3 separate regions of the Homo sapiens genome follow, and all the other regions are linked to region 3. The links are contacts of gene promoters, found by promoter capture Hi-C in blood cells and fetal thymus (Javierre and others, 2016). All regions are on one chromosome and are shown on one strand. Each heading gives the region's core, a stretch centred on a gene start or on the middle of the fragment in contact. The rest is flanking DNA. Distances are from core to core; before and after follow the strand shown. Region 1 overlaps GTF3C3 (general transcription factor IIIC subunit 3). Region 2 overlaps HSPE1-MOB4 (HSPE1-MOB4 readthrough). Region 3 holds the start of NABP1 (nucleic acid binding protein 1).

Evidence for each region. The method cuts DNA at HindIII sites, captures the fragments that hold promoters and counts their contacts. A CHiCAGO score of 5 or more calls a contact.
Region 1: a contact is called between a fragment that was not itself captured here and the fragment with the promoter of NABP1 in region 3, in 2 of 17 cell types (naive CD8 T cells and non-activated CD4 T cells). The highest score is 11.0, in naive CD8 T cells.
Region 2: a contact is called between a fragment that was not itself captured here and the fragment with the promoter of NABP1 in region 3, in 1 of 17 cell types (fetal thymus). The highest score is 5.4, in fetal thymus.

Annotation. Positions count from the first base shown.
Region 1 is chr2:196,796,427-196,799,582 of GRCh38, forward strand. GTF3C3 (general transcription factor IIIC subunit 3) reads right to left here. Exons shown (of 18, transcript NM_012086.5): 1 at 3,084-3,156; 2 at 1,371-1,482. Among named protein-coding and RNA genes, the nearest start is that of GTF3C3, 1.7 kb to the right of the region's middle. The HindIII fragment of the contact is 3,187 bases long and covers 1-2,882 here.
Region 2 is chr2:197,503,985-197,507,164 of GRCh38, forward strand. All of the region lies in intron 2 of HSPE1-MOB4 (HSPE1-MOB4 readthrough), which reads left to right. Among named protein-coding and RNA genes, the nearest start is that of HSPE1-MOB4, 5.2 kb to the left of the region's middle. The HindIII fragment of the contact is 1,868 bases long and covers 882-2,749 here.
Region 3 is chr2:191,676,068-191,679,516 of GRCh38, forward strand. NABP1 (nucleic acid binding protein 1) reads left to right here and starts at 2,069. Exons shown (of 6, transcript NM_001031716.5): 1 at 2,069-2,638; 2 at 2,923-3,061. The coding sequence starts at 2,548. RefSeq lists enhancers at 1-27, 1,621-1,700, 1,910-2,412, 3,240-3,449 and silencers at 1,761-2,110, 2,711-2,770. The HindIII fragment of the contact is 1,958 bases long and covers 531-2,488 here.

The DNA.
Region 1 (3,156 bases), core at 39-2,538, 5.1 Mb after region 3:
GGAAAAAAGAGCAGCTCCTCCCTTCAGCAGATAAGGAAGGACACACAAATTGTGAGAACAACTTCAGTCAGCTGCCTTTTTTTCTTCATCTTTTAAGTTCAGGAGTACATGTGCAGGATGTCCAGGTTTGTTACATAGGTCAACATGTACCATGGTGGTTTGCTGCACAGATCATCCCATCACCTAGATATTAAGCCCAGCATCTATCAGCTGTTCTTCCTGATGCTCTCCCTCCCGCAACACCCCTAATCCAAAAGGCCCCAGTGTCTGTTGTTTCCTCACCCCCTTTTGTCCCTGTGTTCTCATCATTCAGCTCCCACTTATAAGTGAGAACATGCGGTGTTTGGTCTTCTGTTCCTGTGTTGGTTTGCTGAGGATAACGGCTTCCAACTCCATCCATGTCCCTGCAAAGGACATGATCTCATTCCTTTTTATCAGCTGCCTTTTCCACCCCACTTTCCTGGCAGAATAAGAAACTGTAACCCCCAGTTTTCCCTCCTCTTTGCCCTTTTTTCCTCACTTGGTCCAGGGAGGTAGGAACAAATCTTGTTTGTTTTCTGCCCATGCTATGACTGTCTGTTCTCTGTGTAAACACTTACTTGTTTTGAGGGAAAAGAACCAGACTGTACTTCTAACCCCTAGAACTAGACAGTTGTTATCAGACCCTATACATGAAGCTACATTCTAACTGACAGTTTAGCATCCCAGTTAACTTGATATGGTAGTAAATGGATACCCTGAGATATTATCAGCATTCTGATCCCTGGAAAAGGGTATCAATCACTGAACATTAATAAATTTGCTTACTAATTAATTAGGCTACGATGAGTTTAAATAGTCTGGGTGCACTAACCAAATTTAATATCTGGACATGCAAAGCTGAGGACTGGATGCTAGAATGAGGTAGCCTACCAAGACACCTGTGCTGTGTGTGAAGTTCCATGAGGGCAACCAACTTGCCTTCCACGCTAACATTTCTATCTTTTCTCCCTGTAACTAAAGCAGTGGTTTGGAAGCCACTTTATATCGAAGTGTAATTCATTACAATTTGAGGAAGTATAGTCTGGAAGTGATTAGTTACCAACTGAGAGGGCCAATTTAAAAAATAATCTTAAAAAGCTCCCAAACAAATACTGATGTCAATTTAAAACACTTTTCCAACACCAGAGCTCACAAAAAATAACCATCAGGGTATTCAATAACTCAACAAATATTTATTGGGCACCTACTATATAACCAAGCATTCTGTTCCTGAAAAACCAGGTAATCAACAACAGAGTATCACTGCCATGAAAATACAATGTTTCACTAAATTACTTTGCTTACATACTCTAAACATTCATTGCAGGAAGCACATAATTTTAACATACCTTCATTGACATCTTTGTCTTGGGATTTGGTAGAGTTAATTCCTGATGATGATGGAACTTCAGAGTCATCGGGATTTTCTTCAGCTGATAACTTGCCTTTTTCCTGAAGACTCTGTGATTGCAAATTAATTAATGATTCCAAAAAATAATGCAGACTTAGCTCTCCCCAGCCACAGAGTATCTGGTTCTAGTCCTAGCTTTGCCACTCGGGCATTTTGTGACCATGGGTTGGCAGTTTATAGAATAGGGCATTTGCCTAATTTTCTATTCCTACAAAACTTGAGCTGTGAACACATACACAGTAGATGGAATCTAAATTTGAATACTGTCAAAGCATTTCAAAGTACTTATATCTTACCCTTCAATCTGTCATTTGTAAAAAAAAATAAATAAAATATCTTAATAATTTCATTAATGAACATATTGTATCCTAATATTTTAAATAAAAAATGACTTGGTGGCTCACATCTGTAATCCAACCACTTTGGGAGGCCGAGACAGGCGGATCCCTTGAGCTCAGGAGTTTGAGACCGGCCTGGGCAACATGAAGAAACCCTGTCTCTACAAAAAATACAAAAATTAGCAGAGTGTGATGGCTCACACCTGTGGTCTCAGCTACTTGGAGGCTGAGGTAGGAGGACTGCTTGAGTCCGGGAGGCGGAAGTTACAGTGAGCTGAGATCGCGTCACTGCACTCCAGCATGGGTGACAGAGCCAGACTCTGTCTGAAAATAAAATAAAATAAAATAAATAAAAAGATAAGTCCCTACTACTCGCATGAATTATTAAAGAATCTGCCGGCCGGGCAAAGTAATCCCAGTACTTTGGGAAGCCGAGGCAGGCGGATCACGAGGTCAGGAGTTTGAGACCATCCTGGCCAACATGGTGAAACCCCGTCTCTACTAAACATACAAAAATTAGCCGGGCATGGTGGCAGGCGCCTGTAGTCCCAGCTACTCGGGAGGCTGAGGCAGGAGAATCGCTTGAAACCAGAAGGCCGAGGTTGCAGTGAGCCGAGATCGTGCCACTGCACTCCAGCCTGGGCAACAAGAGCGAAACTCCGTCTCAAAAAAAAAAAAAAAAAAAGAATCTGCCTTCGAACTTAAAAATTTAAAAAGGTTGCATTACTTTTATTTTCTCTTGCACTTGAAGTAAGCAAGAAGATACAGTAAGTTCAGATATTTCTAAGTATGGGGAAAAAAAAGGTATGGGTGAAGATTATCTTCTTATCGGACAATACTTTTTTATGGACTATTACTTCACACCAGTGGGAGACTCCTCAAAAACAGGAGCTCAATCGTTCCAGTTCAGAAAAGGAGACATTGGGGCCTAAAGAAGAGAAGTGAGCTGTCCACCCACCGTCACAAAACGACTTAGTGGCAAAGCTAGGACTAGAACCTGAAACTGACTCCAAACTCTTCTCCCCACCTCCCATTTAACTTACCAGCGTTAAGCTACCCTGAAATAAAAACGTAGTATTGGGGGAAAAAGAAGAGGTTACCACCAAGACGAAAGCTTTTCGGTGGGGGAAAACGTTTTAAGGAGCTTAGCACAGGGATGAGGGGTGAAAACCGGAGTTTCTGTAAGATAAGGAAGAAGCTGCTGAAAGTTCCCAGCCCGCCCCATCACAGTGAAAGCGGTCGTCTGGGTCCCCCACACCTAAGGGTATGAAGGCAACAAGAGTGAAGGGCACCGTGGCCTAGCATCGCCTCACTTTCTTCTCGCGGGTTTTTCTCTCTTCTCTCCGCCGTTCGAACTCCTCAAAGGAGATTTTCCCTTCCAAGTAG
Region 2 (3,180 bases), core at 566-3,065, 5.8 Mb after region 3:
TTTATATAAATACAGAGCATTTTTTGCATGGTTTAATGTATACTGAATTCCCAGGTACACAAGTACCATGTAAATTGAGGGAAGAATTATACTTTCCATTTTTTTCTTTTTTTTTTTTTGTGGAGACAGTCTCACTTTGTCACCCAGGTTGGAGTGCACTGGCACTGTCATGGCTCACTGTAGCCTCCACCTTCTTCCCAGGCACAGGTGATCCTCCCACGTCCGCCTCCTTGAGTGACTGGGATTACAGGCATGCACCACCATGCCCTGCTAATTTTTGTATCTTTTGTAGAGATGGGGTTTTGCCATGTTGTCCAGGCTGGTCTTGAACCTTCTGGGCTCAAGCAATATGCCTGCCTTGGCCTCCCAGACTGCTGGGATCACAGGCCTGAGTGAGCCACCATACCTGGCAGCTTTTTTTATTTTTTAGAACTTTAAGAGTTGGTCAATATTTCGGAAAATCAACTTCTGTACATTAAAGTTAGGACATTACCTTATTTTTTTTTTTTAATGGTGATGGGTTATATTTATGCTTTTCTATTTGACACTAGTTTGTCAGAGTTGGAAAACAGCCACATGCTCACCTAGTCAGTGTGACCTCAATGTAGTTGAGATGAGAAACAGGAAGACTTCAGTGTAGTTTCTAACCTGATACTGGCATTTAATATCAGGCATATGATGTCCTATCAAGTTTCTGAAAGACAACGTGAAAAAGGCATCACATAGTCCTTGAGGGGTGATCGTCCTTGGCGGCCAGCAGCAATGACAAAGCAGTGAGCGCACCAGGGTCACCCCGCTCAGCTGTGGTACATTTTTCCCTTGGCTCAGCTGTAATCCATAGTTTCACCCCAATTAACTTCCCAGATACATTGCGTCTTTTAAGCTTTGTTTTGTATTGCATTGGAAAGAACAGTGCTGAGAAGCTCTCCATGGTTACCTGAGCCTCAGTGACCACCATCTTCACCTGAAGCTGCCCAGCATCCAGTGACCAAGTATCTAAGGCCACTTAGCAATACTGGAGTTGCTCTGGTATCCTCCAAGTGTTTTTTTATGTCTTGTTTTATTTTAGGAAAATTTAATTCTGGAGTGAACATTTTTTTTTTTTTTGAGACAGTTTCTCTGTTGCCCAGGCTGGAGTGCAGTGGCATGATCTTGGCTCACTGCAATCTCCGCTTCCCGGGTTCAAGCAATTCTCGTGCCTCAGCCTCCCAAGTAGCTGGGCTACAGGCGCCTGCCACCATGCCCTGCTAATTTTTTGTATTTTTAGTAGAGACGGGGTTTCGCCATGTTAGGATGGTCTCGATCTTCTGACCTCATGATCCACCTGCCTTGGCCTTCCAAAGTGCTGGGATTACAGGCGTGAGCCACCGCGCCCGGCTCATTTCATTTTTAAAAACTTAACACTGCTACATAATTTGGTTAAAAAAAAAATCTAAGGCAAGTAATTGCAGCTACTTGGAAGGCTGAGGCAGGAGAATGGCTTGAACCTGGGAGGCGGAGGTTGTAGTGAGCTAAGATTGCACCACTGCACTCCAACCTGGGTGACATAGACTGTTTTGAAAAAAAAAAAGTATATATATGATACATATACATATATGATATATGTGATATATACACACATGTATATACGTGTGTGTGTGTGTGTGTGTGTGTGTGTGTGTGTGTGTATATATATATATATATATATATATATATATATATGATAGCTAACATTGGCTGAGTGCCTTCTCTCTGGGGTGAGCACTGTGTGATAGGATAGCTAACCGGAGCATTTTCTAGGTGCTGGTTACTGTTGAAGGTGCTTTTCATGTATTAATTGGTTTAATCTTTCAACAACCCTATGAGATAGGTACTGTTCTCAACCTGCAGATGAGAAAGCTAAGGCATAGAAGGGGTTAAGTAATAACCAAGGTTGCTCAGTGGTAAGTGGCAAAGCCAGGATTCAGACACAGTCCATCTCCAGATGTTACTGTTTAAAACTTGATCCTTTATAGCCTTTGCTACTTTGTTAATTCTAAGCACTTAATACACATTATTTCAATTAATCCTGGTGATACCCACTGTGGTATGGGGAATGGGTAGTACCAAATGATGTATGTCACTTAAGTTCCTAGTACACCATGTGTTGAATTTAACAAAACTGAGTCAAAGCAGAGGATAAATAGCTTGATATAGCTGTAGCAGCTAGGGAGAAGACTTAAGATTCAAACCCAATAATACTACACTAGAATTTGGTTGGGTGCGGTGGCTTGTGCTCGTAATCCCAGCACTTTGGGAGGCCGAGGTGGGCAGATCTCTTGAGATCGAGACAGCCTGGGCAATATGGTGAAACCCTGTCTTTACAAAAAATACAAAAAGCTACTCAAGGGGCTGAGGTGGGGAGGTTAAGGCTCTGGTGAGCCGAGATTGTGCCACCACACTGCAATCTGGGTGACAGAATGAGACCCTGTCTTTAAAAAAAAGAATCCTACGCTAGAATTGATTACCAACCCTTAAACTCAACTATCAGCTACCAGCTGTCTTAGTAGTCAAACTTATTTTCTAGGTTTAATTATCCATAAACTAGTCTGATAATGTCTTTTAAAGGTTGTGTCCCGTATTTATTTTGAGAGGAATTAAAATTTAAAGTTTTAAATGGCATGGAATAATGATCTCAACTTTTGATCATCTTCCCATCTGTAAAGTAGTAGGTACTTCCACTATATGTATATTTACGTTTATGCACGTGTTACTGCCTTTGGTGTACTAAAGCTTACTTTTTGTCAAACTTCGATACTGGAATTATGCCTAAAAGTTATTTCTTATATTGTCTAAGTGGATTATCAATTTCATACTCTACTCACGCACAGCTAGATAATATGCTTTGCTCATCATAATCTTGGGAGCACAGATTTTTCTGTATTACCAATGAGAAACCTTGACTTAAGAGATAAGAAATCGTTCCAAGGACATGTGGCTAATATATTGTAGAGTAAGGAATCTGTTCAAAGGCTATGGCTTTCCCATTATTCTCCAATGCTATTTTCCTAAGACCCAGCAAATTAGTTTTGATATCTAAGGTAATAGTTCACAAAGCTTGGTTCATCTTTGCAATTGCCTGGTAAACTTAAAATTTCAGGGCCTCATCCAAACCTACTAAATCAGAAGGATAAGAGAATTTTTGAACCACAGAAGCAGTCC
Region 3 (3,449 bases), core at 819-3,318:
AGTACCAGCTTCTGCTTTTGTGGGGCTTGATTTTCTGTGTCTGATTTCTTTTTATAAAATGTTCATATAATTAGCCTGAACAGCCCAACCTAATCCCTTTTCTGGGGGCAAATGATTGAGAGTTGAGTGGCAAACTTTCTTTGCCCAAACTCTTGGCCGTAACTCTTAACATTCTTAATTGGTTTCCTGTCTATTCTTAATCTTTTGAAGATCTTGTCAAACCTTAAAAAAAAAAAAAAAGAGCTCTGCCTTAAATATTGCTTCTGTGAGAATATTTTGCCTGTTTAAGAAAATACAGCTTTGAGTACAATCCAATTGAAGTGTCAAGTCCTGCCAGATAACCATGGTAGAATTAGAGCTTCTGAGCTGGATTGGGATTGAGGTTGGACGCTGGCTCTGCCATTAACTGGCATGTTTCATCATTTGTTTTATTTGATGTTGAAATTATGCTTATAATTTTATTTTACACCACTTTCCAGTATGACATCAGTGTCTTTGGCACCTTGGGCTTTATTAGTTCATGAAATGGAAGCTTCTGTTTCCTTAAAAATGCCTTGACTCTCTTGCTAATGTTGTGATAATGTTTCCAACTCTTTCTAGGGCTATAATATCTATGCTGCTTGTTTGCAAATACTTGGGAAGTGGTGGTTGATCTAAAGATACTCAGAAAGAATGGGGAGAAAATTAAGGCTTCTGACACTTTTCCCAACATTTCTGTTATCATCACCAAGAATTAACTAGATGATTCTTTAATGCCCCACTACTTTATTCTGCTATTTTATTTCTTCAGTCTGTTTTTGACTCTTATAATGACACCACTGGAAGTTAAGTCTAAACATTACCTTTAGGCTGGAGAGCTCTGGGGTCAAGATTGACTAGATTTAAAACCCAGCTCAGCCATTCTCTAGCTATCTGGTCTCTGGTGAGTTCCATCGCCTGTAAAACGGGGATTAAAAAGGGGAAAATACTGAGTATGTACTATTTGCTAGGCACTAGTTGGACAATTTATGATCCATTTAATCAATCTTCTGCTAGGCAGGGATCCCCATTTTATTATGGTTAAAAAGCTGTAATAAAAGCCAATTGACCTAAAGCTCTCACAAGTAAATAGCTGGAGCCCAGGTTTGTCTCTAAAGCACATGCTCTTTTCACTACGCGACATAAAAAAAACTTTATTAATCTTTTTTTCCAGATTATGTTTCAAGGGTTCCCACTGCTGTTGAATAATTAATTCCTTTTAGATGTACAAAAGCAAGTGCAAAGTAAAAGAAGAAAAGCTAAATGGGGAAGGTGTGTAATATGAGAGGCAGGGGGTAAGGAAAAATGAGAAGTCTGCAAAGGAATTTACGTCCTATCTGCTTAGCATTACACAGTGGAAGCCCACGTCAGACATTTGTGTTGCAGTCCTGCCTGCTCAGGGGTTGCTGGGTGACCTTCTGCAAATTACCTCATCTTTCTGGGTTTCAATTTAAGTATGCCTGAAATGAGGCGGTTGAATTGATCTCCAAATTCCCTTCTGGTGCTAAACTTCCAGCCTTGTAGCCACTGACGCCTTCACCATCCCAGCCTGTTTTCCCTTGGTACCGGACCAGCTGCCCTTGCCCGAACCCTGTTCTTCCTCGACTGCGAACTTTCTAACGTACTCACAGGTTCTAAACTCTACCGTTCCTCGTGACCGAGGGACTAAAGGGCCCGGGCAGGGGCTCAACTCTGAGAGAAAAAAAGGCAAGAAAACTCCAAAGTTGGACAGCAAGCGTCAAAAGACTGCACAGCAGGAAGGCGAAACCGAACAGAACTGCTGCTGCGCGGCGACAGCTGAAGTGGGTGGAGAACGGGAGGGCGGGGGAGGCGGGGCCGAGAGCGATTGGAAGGACGAGGGGGCGGAGCCCGCGCTGACAGCCCCCGGGGAGGAGCGAGGGAAGCTCTGCGGGCTGCGGCGGCCGGGTCCCGCCCCTTTGCTTCCCCTCCCCAGCACCAGGCGGGCGTGGCAGCAGGCGTGCCGACGCAGCGTGACTTCACAAGGGGAGGGGCGGGCCGAGGGTCCTGCCGGCGCGCGGGCGTGTTCATCAGTCGCTGTTTGGGACGCTGGGTGTGCGGTGTTCTGTCTCCGCTCCCGTTTCGCTGTCACAGCCCGTTCCTTCCCGGAGCCCGGGACAGGCTGGGCGCGCGCCCGTGTGAGTGAGCGGGACTCAGGGCAGAAGTGTCCCCTCACTGCGTTTTTTTTTCCTTTTATCCAAAGAACGGGGCAGTTAGTACGCTTGCCTTCCTGTCGCCCGGTTGGGAGCGGGGTTGGTGTGCGGAGTGGTTCGCCTTTTTTTCTTTAGAACTTGTGAGCCTTTTTTTTTTTTTTTTTTTTTTTTCTTTTTTTAGGCTCAGTGCTGTCCGGGCTGGTTTGCCCGGTCCCTGACTAACGGCTTTCTGCCCCTTCTCTCGCCACCCCTGCCCAAGGTCGCCCCTCTGCCTTCGCCCCTGTCCCGGGAGGGTGGGAAGCTTTGACCCCGCCCTGCCCACTCGCGTCTCCGCAGCCGTAGCCGCGCCTGTCCCAATATGAATAGGGTCAACGACCCACTTATTTTTATAAGAGATATTAAGCCCGGACTGAAAAACTTAAATGTCGTCTTTATTGTCCTGGAGATAGGTAAGTGGGGTTTGCAGCCTACTCCACCGCCCGCTGTGCCTCCCGGGGCGGGAGACAGGGGCGCCGGCCGCTGCGCGCCCGGGGCTCCCCTCCTCCTCCCTCCCCTCCCCCACCCACGTGGCTCTAGTGGCCTCCGCCCGAGATCGGATCCTACCTGAGGCGGGAGCCCTGGGCTTGGTCACTTCCCACCTTCCAGATGTATTAAAATACCGGAGGAGGAGTTAGCCTTTCTGGATGTCCTCATTATCTAACAACCCCTCCCTTTGATTTTTAAATCCTCACAGGACGCGTGACCAAAACCAAAGACGGCCATGAAGTGAGATCGTGCAAAGTAGCAGATAAAACGGGCAGCATCACTATTTCCGTGTGGGATGAGATCGGAGGTCTTATACAGCCAGGGGATATTATTCGGTTGACCAGAGGGTAGGTGTGCAAAAAAGTCGGGGGACCTAACAGTCTGCAGAATCGGGATTGGCCGGCTCCTGGGATCTTGGCAAGCCCTGAAGTCCCCCGCCTTTTCTGTGGGCCACTCTTGAGGAGTTTTGAACTCCTTTGGTGTTAACTTTGGGTGGTGGGCAGCGCTGGGATGTAACAGACCTTTGCAGTGAAAGGCAGTCGGTTTCAGCTGGGAAATCCGCGCCTCTACCCCGGTTTACAGGTTAAGTAGATTTTTAATTATTATTATTTTTTGGGACCGAGTCTCGCTCTGTCGCCAAGCTGGAGTGCAGTGGCGTGATCTCTCCTCACTGCAGCCTCCGCCTCGCGGGTTCAAGAGATTCTCGTGCCTCAGCCTCCCAAGTAGCTGGGACTA